Linked DNA regions of Homo sapiens: regions 1, 3 and 4 are each linked to region 2. The links are contacts of gene promoters, found by promoter capture Hi-C in blood cells and fetal thymus (Javierre and others, 2016). All regions are on one chromosome and are shown on one strand. The core of a region is centred on a gene start or on the middle of the fragment in contact, and the rest is flanking DNA. Distances in the headings are between cores, read along the strand shown. Region 1 has its middle 9.8 kb from the start of CP. Region 2 holds the start of HPS3 (HPS3 biogenesis of lysosomal organelles complex 2 subunit 1). Region 3 has its middle 30 kb from the start of CP. Region 4 overlaps CP (ceruloplasmin).

Region 1 (2,838 bases), core at 13-2,512, 100 kb before region 2:
CCAACTCTAACTTCCTGCTTCTGCTCATCTCCCTTGCCTCTCAACTCCTATAGCTGGTGTTTTTTCATAACTGTGTGCAATTCCAAACATGGAGCACATCCCATTTCCTTTGGTACTCTTAAGCAACCACAAAATCAAGGCCATTGTGAGTTACAGACTTTTAGTGAAAGAGTGGGGATAAACGAAGTTTTTTTTTCAGTACTACATAATGAAAGCACTTACCATTGTTGGGCATTTGGGTTGGTTCCAAGTCTTTGCTATTGTGAATAATGCCTCAATAAACATACGTGTGCATGTGTCTTTATAGCAGCATGATTTAGAGTTCTTTGGGTATATACCCAGTAATGGGATGGCTGGGTCAAATGGTATTTCTAGTTCTAGATCCCTGAGGAATCGCCACACTGACTTCCACAATGGTTGAACTAGTTTACAACCCAAATGCCCAACAATGATAGACTGGATTAAGAAAATGTGGCACATATACACCATGGAATACTATGCAGCCATAAAAAATGATGAGTTCATGTCCTTTGTAGGGACATGGATGAAATTGGAAAGCATCATTCTCAGTAAACTATCGCAAGAACAAAAAACCAAACACCGCATATTCTCACTGATAGGTGGGAATTGAACAATGAGATCACATGGACACAGGAAGGGGAATATCACACTCTGGGGACTGTGGTGGGGTGGGAGGAGGGGGGAGGGATAACATTGGGAGATATACCTAATGCTAGATGACGAGTTAGTGGGTGCAGCGCACCAGCAAGGCACATGTATACATATGTAACTAACCTGAACAATGTGCACATGTACCCTAAAACTTAAAGTATAATAATAATAATAATAAAAAAAGAAAGCACTTACCATTTGACATTAGATGTCCCACCCCCAATTACCCTTTCACCATGCATCACTGAGAGCCTCTAGCTCGTTTGCCTTTTACTCTCACCCTCAGGACTTGTTTCTCCACATTTTTCCTCTCTAGACTCTCTGACATCCCTTCTCTCCTGAAATTATTCAGAACTCTTGAGCTGCAGTTCCCCAATCCACCCCCACCACCATCCTGCAAATACTTCCTATTTTATTTTGTAGAGCAATTCACCTTCCTTTTAGTCTCTTCCAATCCACCCGGACTAGGCCCTAGGACTTCATATCTAAAATTCTAAGCAGCCTACAGAGGTAGTTTCCTAAACATTGGGTTCTCTGCTTAGGAGAGAAATTAGCTAAAAAGTGCCCTCAGCCCTCAGCCCTCAGGCCCAATCTCCAGAAGGCAAACTTGGCTGCAGATGCCAAGGGAGCTCCTCCTCCCTTCTCCTCCCTCTCCCCTTCTCTTTCCTGTAACAATGAGTTTTTCTGATTAGCTGTATCTCAAGAAATGACAATCCTTCACATCAACATGTTATGTCACATCAACGTAACATCCCAAGTTAGAAATATGTCACTTAGAACCTTTGGGATTTGAGACTAGAAGTTCTCTGAAATCTAGAGCGCTCGGTCGTGTGAGACATTGGCAAGTTTCTAACACCAATACGAAACTACAGGTACCCTTGTAGAGTGAAACATTTTCTTTGCATTCTATCTAACACCAGAATGTCCTGGGTCTTAGTTCTCCTCCAAAGCCTCAAGTGCACTCAGAGAAGAGAACAAAATAGCTTTAATAGCTTAATGATTTCCTTTCCTTTCCCTCTTCCCTTCCCTTTTCTTCTCCCTCCTCTCCCCTCCCCTCCCCTCCCCTCCTTTCTCTTGCCATCCACTCCCTTCCCCTCCCCTTCCCTTTCCTTTCCCTTTTCAGATGGGATCTTGCTCTGTCACCCAGGCTGGAATACTGGAGTGCAGTGGCATGATCACAGTTTACTGCAGCCTTGAACTGGGCTCAAGCAATCCTTCCACCTCAGCCTCCCAGGTAGCTGGGACTACTGGCACACACTACTGCCTGGCTAATTTTTAAAATATATTTTTTTTTAGAGATGAGGAGCTCAGGCTGGTCTTGAACTCCTGAGCTCAAGTCATCCTCCCCTGCCACCCCAGCCTCCCAAGTAGCAGATTACAGACATAAGCCACCGTGCCCAGCCCAGCACCTAATGCTTTCTAATTGTCACCTAATTAGGTATATTAGAATTTGGGAATTATAGCAAGTGGTAAGTGATATCTTTTATAAGCGATGTAATGATGTTTAATCTCCTTGTTAAGAATTAGGGAGTGTATCAATCTGATGTTTATGACCTTCCTCCTGGGGTCTATCGAACTGTAAAAATGTATCGAAGAGATGTTGGAACCTGGTTATTTTATTGCCATGTTTTTGAGCACATTGGTGCTGGAATGGAAAGCACTTACACTGTACTTGAAAGAAAAGGTAAGATCCATTGGCTAAATTAATTAGAAGTGATATTTAAACAAATGCAGTGTTTATGTAAGGATATTTAATGCATTGAACATTCATATAATGTGATGTGCCATTCATTCATTCAAAGATTACTATTTTGAGATGACTGAGATACTCTAGTTTTATTTTCTTTGTAAAACTCAGATAACTTTTCATGATCTGATAAAATATACTCTAGAGTTAAATGTAATTTCCAGATTCACATAAGATATACATATAAGGTATAAACAGACAATTCATAGAAGATCAAAAACAAATATCTTTTGAACCTATAAAAATATCCAAACTTGCCAATAATCAAATCACTTCAAAATCACATTTAAGCAACAATAAAATACCTTTTTGAGTATATGTTGGCAAATATTTATCTATTTTTAATGATAGCATCAATAGCAGTGTGGTGAGATAGGGTGCATTGCATATACTTTGGTGGATGTGTTAATTGGTTCTGC
Region 2 (3,027 bases), core at 56-2,555:
GTAAGTGTATTAAAGGAATTATATGGTAAATTCTTCTGTAATCTAAAAGGGATCTAGTTTTAAATGTTGGATTTTTCTAAAATAGGATTCACCCACACAGTATTTCCTTGGTATTGCTTCACATTTCTGGTGTGAAAGAGTAACGGCTGCTCTTACAACTGTTTGTTTTTGTTTGTTTTGGGACGGAGTCTCACTCTGTCGCCTAAACTGGAGTGCAATGGGGCAATCTCCGCCTCCCCGGTTCAAGCGATTCTCCTGCCTCAGCCTCCCAAGTAGCTGAGACTACAGGCGCCCACCACCACGTCCGGCTAATTTTTGTATTTTTAGTACAGACGGGGTTTCAATAAATTGACCAGGCTGGTCTCGAACTCCTAACATCGTGATCCGCCTGCCTCAGCCTCCCAAAGTGTTGGGATTACAGGCGTGAGCCACTGCGCCCGGCCACAGATGTTTAAGAGAAGAGAGGGGGGCAGTCTGAGTTCTACTTACACACATTTAAAAATCAACACATAATGTGAGCTTTCAAAAACCGACCGGAAGTAGATGGAGGTACAGATGTGAAAGAACTGCCAAGAGTTGGAATAATTGTTAAAGCTGGGAGTACTTGGAGGTTCCGGGATACAGTACTAGTCTCCTTATTCCTACTTGTTTTTTTGGTAAGTCTTTGAAATCTGATGCACTAAAGAGTTTTTTGTTGTTGTTTGCTTAAGTATCCGAGATGAGTGGAATCCAGCCAGAGGCCTTTCTGCAGAAAACCAAGACGAAGAGATGTCAGCGTCTCCGCCCCGACAGAAGCAAGCTCATACCTATGCTTGCCGCGACAACCGCATAGCTCAATGCGACTTCAAGCAATCAGCGGCCAGACCCAGGGAGACCATCCGGCAAATTCCGGGAAGCAAGAAGTCCCATCCCTAGCTAGAGCTACAGCCCAGACGTTCGGTCCGCTAGCTAGGAGGCCTCAAGCTGGACCCCAGGCGGCCCCTGGCTCTCTAGATTACTCACCAGCCTCGCTGTAGGCCAGGCGCAACACCCGGCCCAGCGTGGAGAAGGCGCACCGCGGCTGGCACAGCTCCTGGCCGGCCACCGCGAACGCCTCCACCTTGCAGCCCGCCGCCACGAAAAGCGCGTCACGCCCCCCGCCACAGAACCGGTCCGGCTCCAGCTTGCAGGGCACCACCTGCTGCGACCCGAACGGGTGCAGGTTGTACAGCTGCACCATCCCGACGTCCGGCGGGATGGCACAGCCTGCCCGCCCTGCAGGGCGCCCGGAGACCCCGCGCTGACCGCGAATGTAGGACTACTTCCGCGAGCGAGCCAATGACGCCGGGTCACGTGAACGCCAGCCGGCCCCGCCCGCGGCTCCGCTACTTAAAGAGGCCGCCGCGGGGCGTGGCAGGCGTCGGGAAAGCGGTCACGCCAGCCTGGTCAGCCCGCGCTCTGGCGCTGCAGTGCTTTCGGTCTCTGCGCCTCCCACTCCGCCGCGCGAGCTTGCCACTGCTCTATGCTCAGTGGCCGGTGGGTGCGGGGACCGCTGGGTCCCTGCCTTTCGTCTTTTACTGCTTTGGGCCAGGCGGTATGTTTTGGCTTTTGAGTACGTTCTGACAATTCATCATCTATCTTGTAACATTTTGTACTTACTTTGAGGAGCGTTATTCATGTCTCTTCAGTAGTCCCTGAGCTTCTGGAGGATGGGGTTGCAAAAACTGAAATGGGGTGCAACTCGGGGCTAAACACTCTGAAGAGTTGCTTTAAAATAATGGAAATTCTAGAATAGTTCAGCTGGAAAGAGCAAAGCCTTGAACGTGCTTGGCAAAAAGATATTTGTTGAAAGAAAGAATCCATGGACTTCATCTTGTAGGCATTTGACAAAAGACTAGTTTGAGCCCCAGAGGATAGAAGAACTAGGAGGGAAATCCCCTGGCTTTCAGTCCAGTGCTCCTAAAACTATGCAGTAAATTATCTATTCCTGACATCTCAACGTGGAGTTCACGATCGCAACACTTTCCCTTTTCTAAAAAAATCAGATTTAGATAAAACAAGTAGTATAACTTTGTCCAGTTCACCTAGAAAATATATGTGTTAGCATGGATTGAGGGATGCTGTTTTATTTAGGCACACAGGGACATAAATGAAAGTGCAACATTTTCTTCAGTCAGTTTCCAGTTCAGAATTTGTAAATTAGATGCAATTGGATTGAAGTTAAACTTGCCTCCCTTTCCTAGGCCCTTCAGATGAATAAAGTACCTCTAAGTAATGGGAAACAACAGGTTCGTCAAACTCAGTGAGTTAGAGAAGTAAACATGGAGGTAGCTCAGGTCAGGAACTAGGGCTGCAAAAAATCACAGAAGGCTCCTATGGAAAACAACCAGACTAATAGTCCACAAGTTATTTGTTCTAGATACAAAACTTAAGAGCAAATATCAAAATCAATAGTAAAAAAGATTCCTTTCCACAAGTATCTGCCATATTATTCTTTTTGGCTTAATTTTCTTCTTCAAGACTTAATTATCCTAATTCAATTTTCTCCTAATGAAGACTGATATTAACTTTAGTGTAATTTCACCTGCATAAAAAGAATGTCTGTTTTGGAGAAAGAAGTGAGATTTGCTCAAAACCTGGAACCCCATTCCTTCCTAGAGATAGTGTCTTCTTCCTTGCTGTAGTCACTGCACCTGACTCATCTAAGATTCTTTGGGAAGAGACATGCTACCCAAGGGAAGGTGGGGCATGTGTCTGGTTTCCACGTTTGTCAGGAGCTGTGAGCAGGAGCTGCCCACTTGTATTCCTGTTACGAATGCAGGGGCAGCAATGGCACACCATCAATTCCTTGCGGGAGGTTGCATTTGTTTGCAAGGGCTGCCATAACAAAACACCACAGACTGGGTGGCTTACACAATAGATATTTCATTTTCACAGGTCTGGAGGCTAGAAGTCCAAGATAAGATGTCAGCAGGTATGGTTTCTCCTGAAGCCCCTTCTCCTTGGCTTGAAGATGACTACCTTTTTATTATGTGTTCCTATGGTCTT
Region 3 (3,074 bases), core at 492-2,991, 120 kb before region 2:
GTGCCTGTAATCTCAGCTACTTGGGAGGCTGAGGCAGGAGAATCGCTTGAACCTGGGAAGTGGAGGTTGCAGTGAGCTGAGATCGCGCCATTGCCCTCCAGCCTGAGTAACAAGAGCAGAACTCCATACCAAAAAATAAGTAAATATATAAATAATAAATAAATATCATTTCCCAAGAAGAATATTGTCTACTAGGGTGATTATTTTGAATTTAACTTACCAAATATTTACCAACACCTTCTTGGTGCAATATATTTTATCTATAGCTAAATGTGAAAAGTCACGTACTTCTCTACTGCCAAATTCGTAGAGTGGGTGGAGTAGGGTGTTTGTTGAGCTGGTTGGGTGGGTTGGTGGGTGGCTGGTTGGTTGGTTGTTGGTTTTTGAAGACTGTACAGTGCATTGGGAAAAGGGTTGATCCAGAATCTGGAGACTTGGACTTTGGTCTTAACATTGTCATTTGTTAGCCGTATGACATTGGACAAGAAACTATTTCTCTGGCCTTAGTTTCCTCAACTCTAAAAGGAAGAGCTTGACTGGAATAACCCAATGAGGGTATCATGGAATTCTGTCATTCTCTAATTCTATAATGTCATTTTTAGCCCCCATGAAGTGATTAAATAACAATAGAGGAAAGGAAAGTTGAAAAAATTGCTTTTTTTTACGTGAATGAGCTGCTTCATGATTAATGCTTTGTTGGGTTTCAAAAGATATCAAGTACCAGTGAATTAAATACTCTTTCCTTTGTTACAAATACCTTGCAGCCATAAATGGATACATGTATGGAAATCTGCCTGGATTGGACACGTGCTTAGGAGACAACGTTTTGTGGCACGTTTTTAGTGTAGGATCAGTGGAAGATTTACACGGGATATATTTTTCAGGAAATACCTTCACTTCTTTAGGAGCAAGAAGGGACACAATACCTATGTTTCCTTATACTTCTCAGACGCTTTTGATGACACCTGATTCTATAGGTGAGCAGTGGGTCTTCTCATTCAGCCTGAAACATTAAAGTATGCAGAAGCACTATCTTTATACGCACTGAATATTCTGTACAGGAAAAAAAAATTGAACTGATACAAACAATGCTTGAGAAATCTTTGCCCTGCTCCACTTCATTTATAAGAGCCTTAGTATTTCATTTTCCTATACACATAAATCACCTCAGTTTTTTCAGGTCCTCTTCCTAGTCCTTCAGGCTTTAAACCATCCCAATGCTCTTCAAAAATGATGAAGATGTTTTAAACCCTTTAAACTCATTTTCATTCTGTTGTCTTCTGCATTTCTTACTCTTCTGTCCATTTGTTTCCCAGGCCTTCCTGCTGCTTCGACCTTACCCTACTGCCTTGTGACTTCCTCTTTCTATCCTCCTTACTAGCTTTGCTCTCTGGATAAATGTTTTAGCTTCAGTGAGGTTGATCCTTGCTGGCAACATTTTTTTTTTTTAAAGAAGGCACCCCATATCAAAGAACTGTGTGGGGATCAAAGGAAACCAGCCTTCCTTCTGAACCTCGTTTCCTCATTTGTAAAATAGGAATTGTAAAAACTTGTAATTTGCAAAAAGGAATAGACAGTGATCAATGAGATAGGTAAAGTATAGTAAACTGCCTGGCATATGTTAGACTTTCAATAAATGCTAGTTCCTTCTTTAATCCAGTAGATCCACCCTTGTCCCATATACCTGCCCCCCCGCCCCAAAATACATCTATCTTGGTCAAAAATGACTGATATCAACCAAAATCTGGCTATATGATAAACAAACTACTCTGTAAATACTATGAATTGGTATCTTGACTCTTTGTGATGCCAAATATTCATTTGACTACATTTTCTTCATTTCAAAATTTAAAATTTTACTTTTCAAACAAACAAAAGTTGTGATTCAGAGTAATTGGAGGGGAAAAGAAAGCGATCTTTGGCCCAGCGCGGTGGCTCACACCTGTAATCCCAGCACTTTGGGAGGCTGAGACGGGCGGATCATGAAGTCAGGAGATTGAGACCATCCTGGCTAACATGGTGAAACCTTGTGTCTACTAAAAATACAAAAAAATTAGCTGGGCATGGTGGCAGGCGCCTGTAGTCCCAGCTAGTCGGGAGGCTGAGGCTGGAGAATGGCATGAACTCAGGAGGCGGAGCTTGCAGTGAGCCGAGATCGTGCCACTGCACTCCAGCCTGGGCGACAGAGCAAGACTCGGTCTCACACACAAAAAAAAAAAAAAAAAAAAAAAAAGAGAGAGAGATCTTTCTCTGGTGCTTTTTTTTTTCCTCCTCTTTTTTAGAGGATGTACCTGCATGCTCATTCAGGGACAAGTTATTTCTTTTTCCTGCCCCAGTCCTTCCTCTCCTTTCCCCTGCAGGTGTTTTTCTGGATTTAAAAACTACCTTGTCTCATTCTCTTTTCCAAAGCATATCAACTGTAGCAAACAAGTGGAGACAGGTACACTATGTGTTAAACACGGTGCTAGAGCTTATACAGGGATTATGTCATTTTCAACAAATTCTTTTTCTCAAACCCTCTGAGTCTGAAGGTTTTGCTTCCTTGTACATCTTCCTAAACCTTACCCTCCACAAAAGTCACAGCAACAACAGAAATACGTAGAGTTGAAAGAGAGCTTTCGTCAAGAAGCAGTGTCAGCACGTGGTGGGCCTAAAATTACCAAGGTAAAAGAAAGAAAACTGGAATTCAGGTGGAATGTTCTGGTCAGAATCAGGCTAGAGTTTTTTTGTTATGGTGGTTTGTTTTTGTTTTTGTCATTGTTTTGGATTTTTAATGTATTTTTAATGTATTGAACTTTTTTTCACTCCCTCCTCTGCTACCTACCACTCTGATCAAAGCCATCATCTCTCATCGATTATTTTTAATAGCCTCTCAACAGATCCCGTTTCTTTCACCATTGTACACGCCAGCCTATTCTCAGCACAGCTGCTAGAGTGTCCTTATACCCTTCATTGACTTAAAATCCCACAGTGGCTCTCCATTTCACTTAGTGAATGCTATCATGTATTCAGTGGCCCACAAGGGCTCCATCACCTAGCCCTCTGCTCCCTAGTACTTTCACCCTTGCTCCCTC
Region 4 (2,940 bases), core at 4-2,503, 80 kb before region 2:
CATAAAAGGCTGACTGCCATCCTATTTCTTTTTAATGATTTCATGGCTTACTAGGGAATTACCATTCATTTTAAAGGTATGGTAATGGAACTGTGGTTTTGTTAGAAGAAAAAAAGGGTTCCTATCTTTTAGAGATACATACTCAAGTATTTATGAATGGAATATGATGTCTGAGACGTGCTTTAAAATAATTTGATGATACTGGGGATAAGAGTGTGTGGGGGTACAGATGAAACAAGGTTGGCCTTGAGTCGATCATTGTTAAAGCTGGTTTGATGGGTACACAGAGGTTCAGCATTTTCTTCTCTCAACCTTTGTGTGTGTTTGGAAATTTCCAAAATTGAGAGTAGAAATGTTTTTAATTTTATGGTTACTTCGTGGGCAAAAATCTGAGATCATATAAGAAGTTTTGAATTTAGAAGAGGGTAGCCTTTTTGCTCAGACTCCCATACCATGACCCGAGTTCTTTACATTGCAAACAAAAAGTCATTATGCTCTCTGAAAACCCAATCAAATATAAAAAAATAATAAAAATGTCTGTGAAGCTTCTACACACCCTAGCCATTAGCCTTTCATTTTCCTGTGTCCAAATAGGATAACACATCCCCAAGGATCACATAGTAGATGTTTAATAAATGTTTGCTGAATGAATTAATGGACTATCTATTCTCTCATTTAAGTTCAAACACATTCACTTTGCACCTTCATTGCATGTTGCTTCCTAGGGGCCATCTACCCTGATAACACCACAGATTTTCAAAGAGCAGATGACAAAGTATATCCAGGAGAGCAGTATACATACATGTTGCTTGCCACTGAAGAACAAAGTCCTGGGGAAGGAGATGGCAATTGTGTGACTAGGATTTACCATTCCCACATTGATGCTCCAAAAGATATTGCCTCAGGACTCATCGGACCTTTAATAATCTGTAAAAAAGGTACATCTTCTCCTTATTGCACATGCTATATGACCAAAAGACAGGGGCAGGGCAGTTTGTCTTTTAAAAAGAAATCAAGTCTTCTGTGCTGAGATTGAGCAGGTAAGGTAGAGAGGTGGTAAGTAGAAAAAAAGGAAGGGAAGAGCCAGGCAGGACTAGGAGAAGAAGGGATAAATAGAACAAGCATTCCTACGGGGAAAATGCCAATGAAGGTAATGTGAAAGAAATATATTCTCTCAGGGTTCAGTTTGCTGTATCTAACTTCCAACAGTGGTGCTGAAGAGACATATGACTTTACCAAATGTGACTACCAAAAGGGCACTCCACGGTGATAGATCTGTAGTTACTCATACTATATTGGTAAACATAATATCATAGTATTTATTTCTAACATCATGAAAAAGACAACGGAGCTCAAGAGCCTGAAATACAATTCTAACTTGAACAATCGTTACCTGTAAAGACTTGTCTCTGTTTGTGGCTATATGCACCAGAAAATAGACGCACAACTTTGAATTCCAATCTTCCCATTTGCCAAAAAGCATTTAATAGTTATGTGGTCAGTGGACATCCAGACACAGGAGTGTCTTCCAAGCACCAGATACTGATCATAAAAATTCCCTGAGTGTTTCTGTCTGTAAAACAGGAGTGACTGGTCCAGACTTGTGATTTATTCGAAAAAATAAATACTAACATTTTTAAAAACTATAAATCACCTGAAAACATAAATCAAAATACATGCTAAAAGTTTAGTCTTGCTAAAATAGTAACTTTAACTCCAGATTCTCTAGATAAAGAAAAAGAAAAACATATTGACCGAGAATTTGTGGTGATGTTTTCTGTGGTGGATGAAAATTTCAGCTGGTACCTAGAAGACAACATTAAAACCTACTGCTCAGAACCAGAGAAAGTTGACAAAGACAACGAAGACTTCCAGGAGAGTAACAGAATGTATTGTAAGATTACAGCAGACATGTTAACTTTACTTTTTTTTCCCTTGATCCATTAATTCTGCTAAGCTTATTCCCTCACATAAATAAGTACTGTGTGTCTAGTCTGTGGTCCTTATAACAAAGCATATTGGATGTGCAATTTGATATTCAGCTAAGTAAGTCAGAATAAAAACTCTAAGCCAGGTAAAGCCAGATACACCAAACTTGTTCCCCAACTGGTAAGGATAAAGCATCAATTATGGTTTAATGCATATGTATGTGACATTAATATATTTATTTATCCACTAGACTCATTCTAAAAATTATTTGAGGCAGCTCCAAATTATTAAACTAAATGCTTAAAACCATATTATATTTTAAAGCATCTAACTATATTTAAGAAAATAGTTCAAACCACGAGTTCTGAAAGGTATTCGTTTTACATACTATGTTGCCCTCACTGGGCCCCTTAGTCTGCATCATTCGTTTCTACATTTCAGTTCACTTTACTTTTCTAGAAATGCTTTTTTTACAGTTTAGACTTTTTCTTAATTCTCAGACACAAAATAATGAGCTTAGTAAGATTATCTATTTCTCATAATTTGCATGAGAAACAGAGTCCCTTAACAACAACTAGACCAATAAGTAGATATTTTCGTTTATTTGTTTGTGTTTAACTTCTTCAAAATAACCTGTACTCAGAAACCGAGAGCACAAAAATAACGATACTACCAAAGTAGAAAAATAAACTAGTTAACAAAGTACAGATTTTGTTTCCAACTTTTACTTATATCTGGGTGGAAGGTCCTCTTTCCATACTTTAATCCTGTCTCTGTTGTGTACTAACAAAAATAGTTGTTATAAAAAGATACTCAAAATTCTAGCCTGAGCAGGTTTGATTTGGTACCAGTGTTACATGTGGTGCACTCAGGATTCTTCCCAGAACTAATTTCCACTTGGGAAATTTTTAGGGCCACCCAGTTTGAACAGTGACCATAAGTTTCTTCTGAGGGTTTCAGGCCACCTTGCCTATGAACTTTTAGGTCTTTGTGGCTCTGTCCCTGCTGCCC

What was found. The method cuts DNA at HindIII sites, captures the fragments that hold promoters and counts their contacts. A CHiCAGO score of 5 or more calls a contact.
Region 1: a fragment that was not itself captured here is called in contact with the fragment with the promoter of HPS3 in region 2 in 4 of 17 cell types (total B cells, naive B cells, M1 macrophages and 1 more); the score reaches 6.8 in total B cells.
Region 3: a fragment that was not itself captured here is called in contact with the fragment with the promoter of HPS3 in region 2 in 10 of 17 cell types (total B cells, naive B cells, M2 macrophages and 7 more); the score reaches 13.8 in total B cells.
Region 4: a fragment that was not itself captured here is called in contact with the fragment with the promoter of HPS3 in region 2 in 1 of 17 cell types (total B cells); the score reaches 5.6 in total B cells.

The regions. Positions count from the first base shown.
Region 1 is chr3:149,230,257-149,233,094 of GRCh38, reverse strand. No RefSeq gene overlaps it. Among named protein-coding and RNA genes, the nearest start is that of CP, 9.8 kb to the right of the region's middle. The HindIII fragment of the contact is 5,487 bases long and covers 1-2,838 here.
Region 2 is chr3:149,127,916-149,130,942 of GRCh38, reverse strand. HPS3 (HPS3 biogenesis of lysosomal organelles complex 2 subunit 1) reads right to left here and starts at 1,305. Exons shown (of 17, transcript NM_032383.5): 1 at 1,003-1,305. The coding sequence starts at 1,219. RefSeq lists enhancers at 764-1,263, 1,045-1,304. The HindIII fragment of the contact is 10,979 bases long and covers 1-3,027 here.
Region 3 is chr3:149,250,749-149,253,822 of GRCh38, reverse strand. It overlaps the pseudogene CPHL1P. Among named protein-coding and RNA genes, the nearest start is that of CP, 30 kb to the right of the region's middle. The HindIII fragment of the contact is 5,460 bases long and covers 1-3,074 here.
Region 4 is chr3:149,208,165-149,211,104 of GRCh38, reverse strand. It overlaps CP (ceruloplasmin), which reads left to right. Exons shown (of 19, transcript NM_000096.4): 3 at 726-938; 4 at 1,721-1,894. Among named protein-coding and RNA genes, the nearest start is that of CP, 12 kb to the left of the region's middle. The HindIII fragment of the contact is 1,412 bases long and covers 548-1,959 here.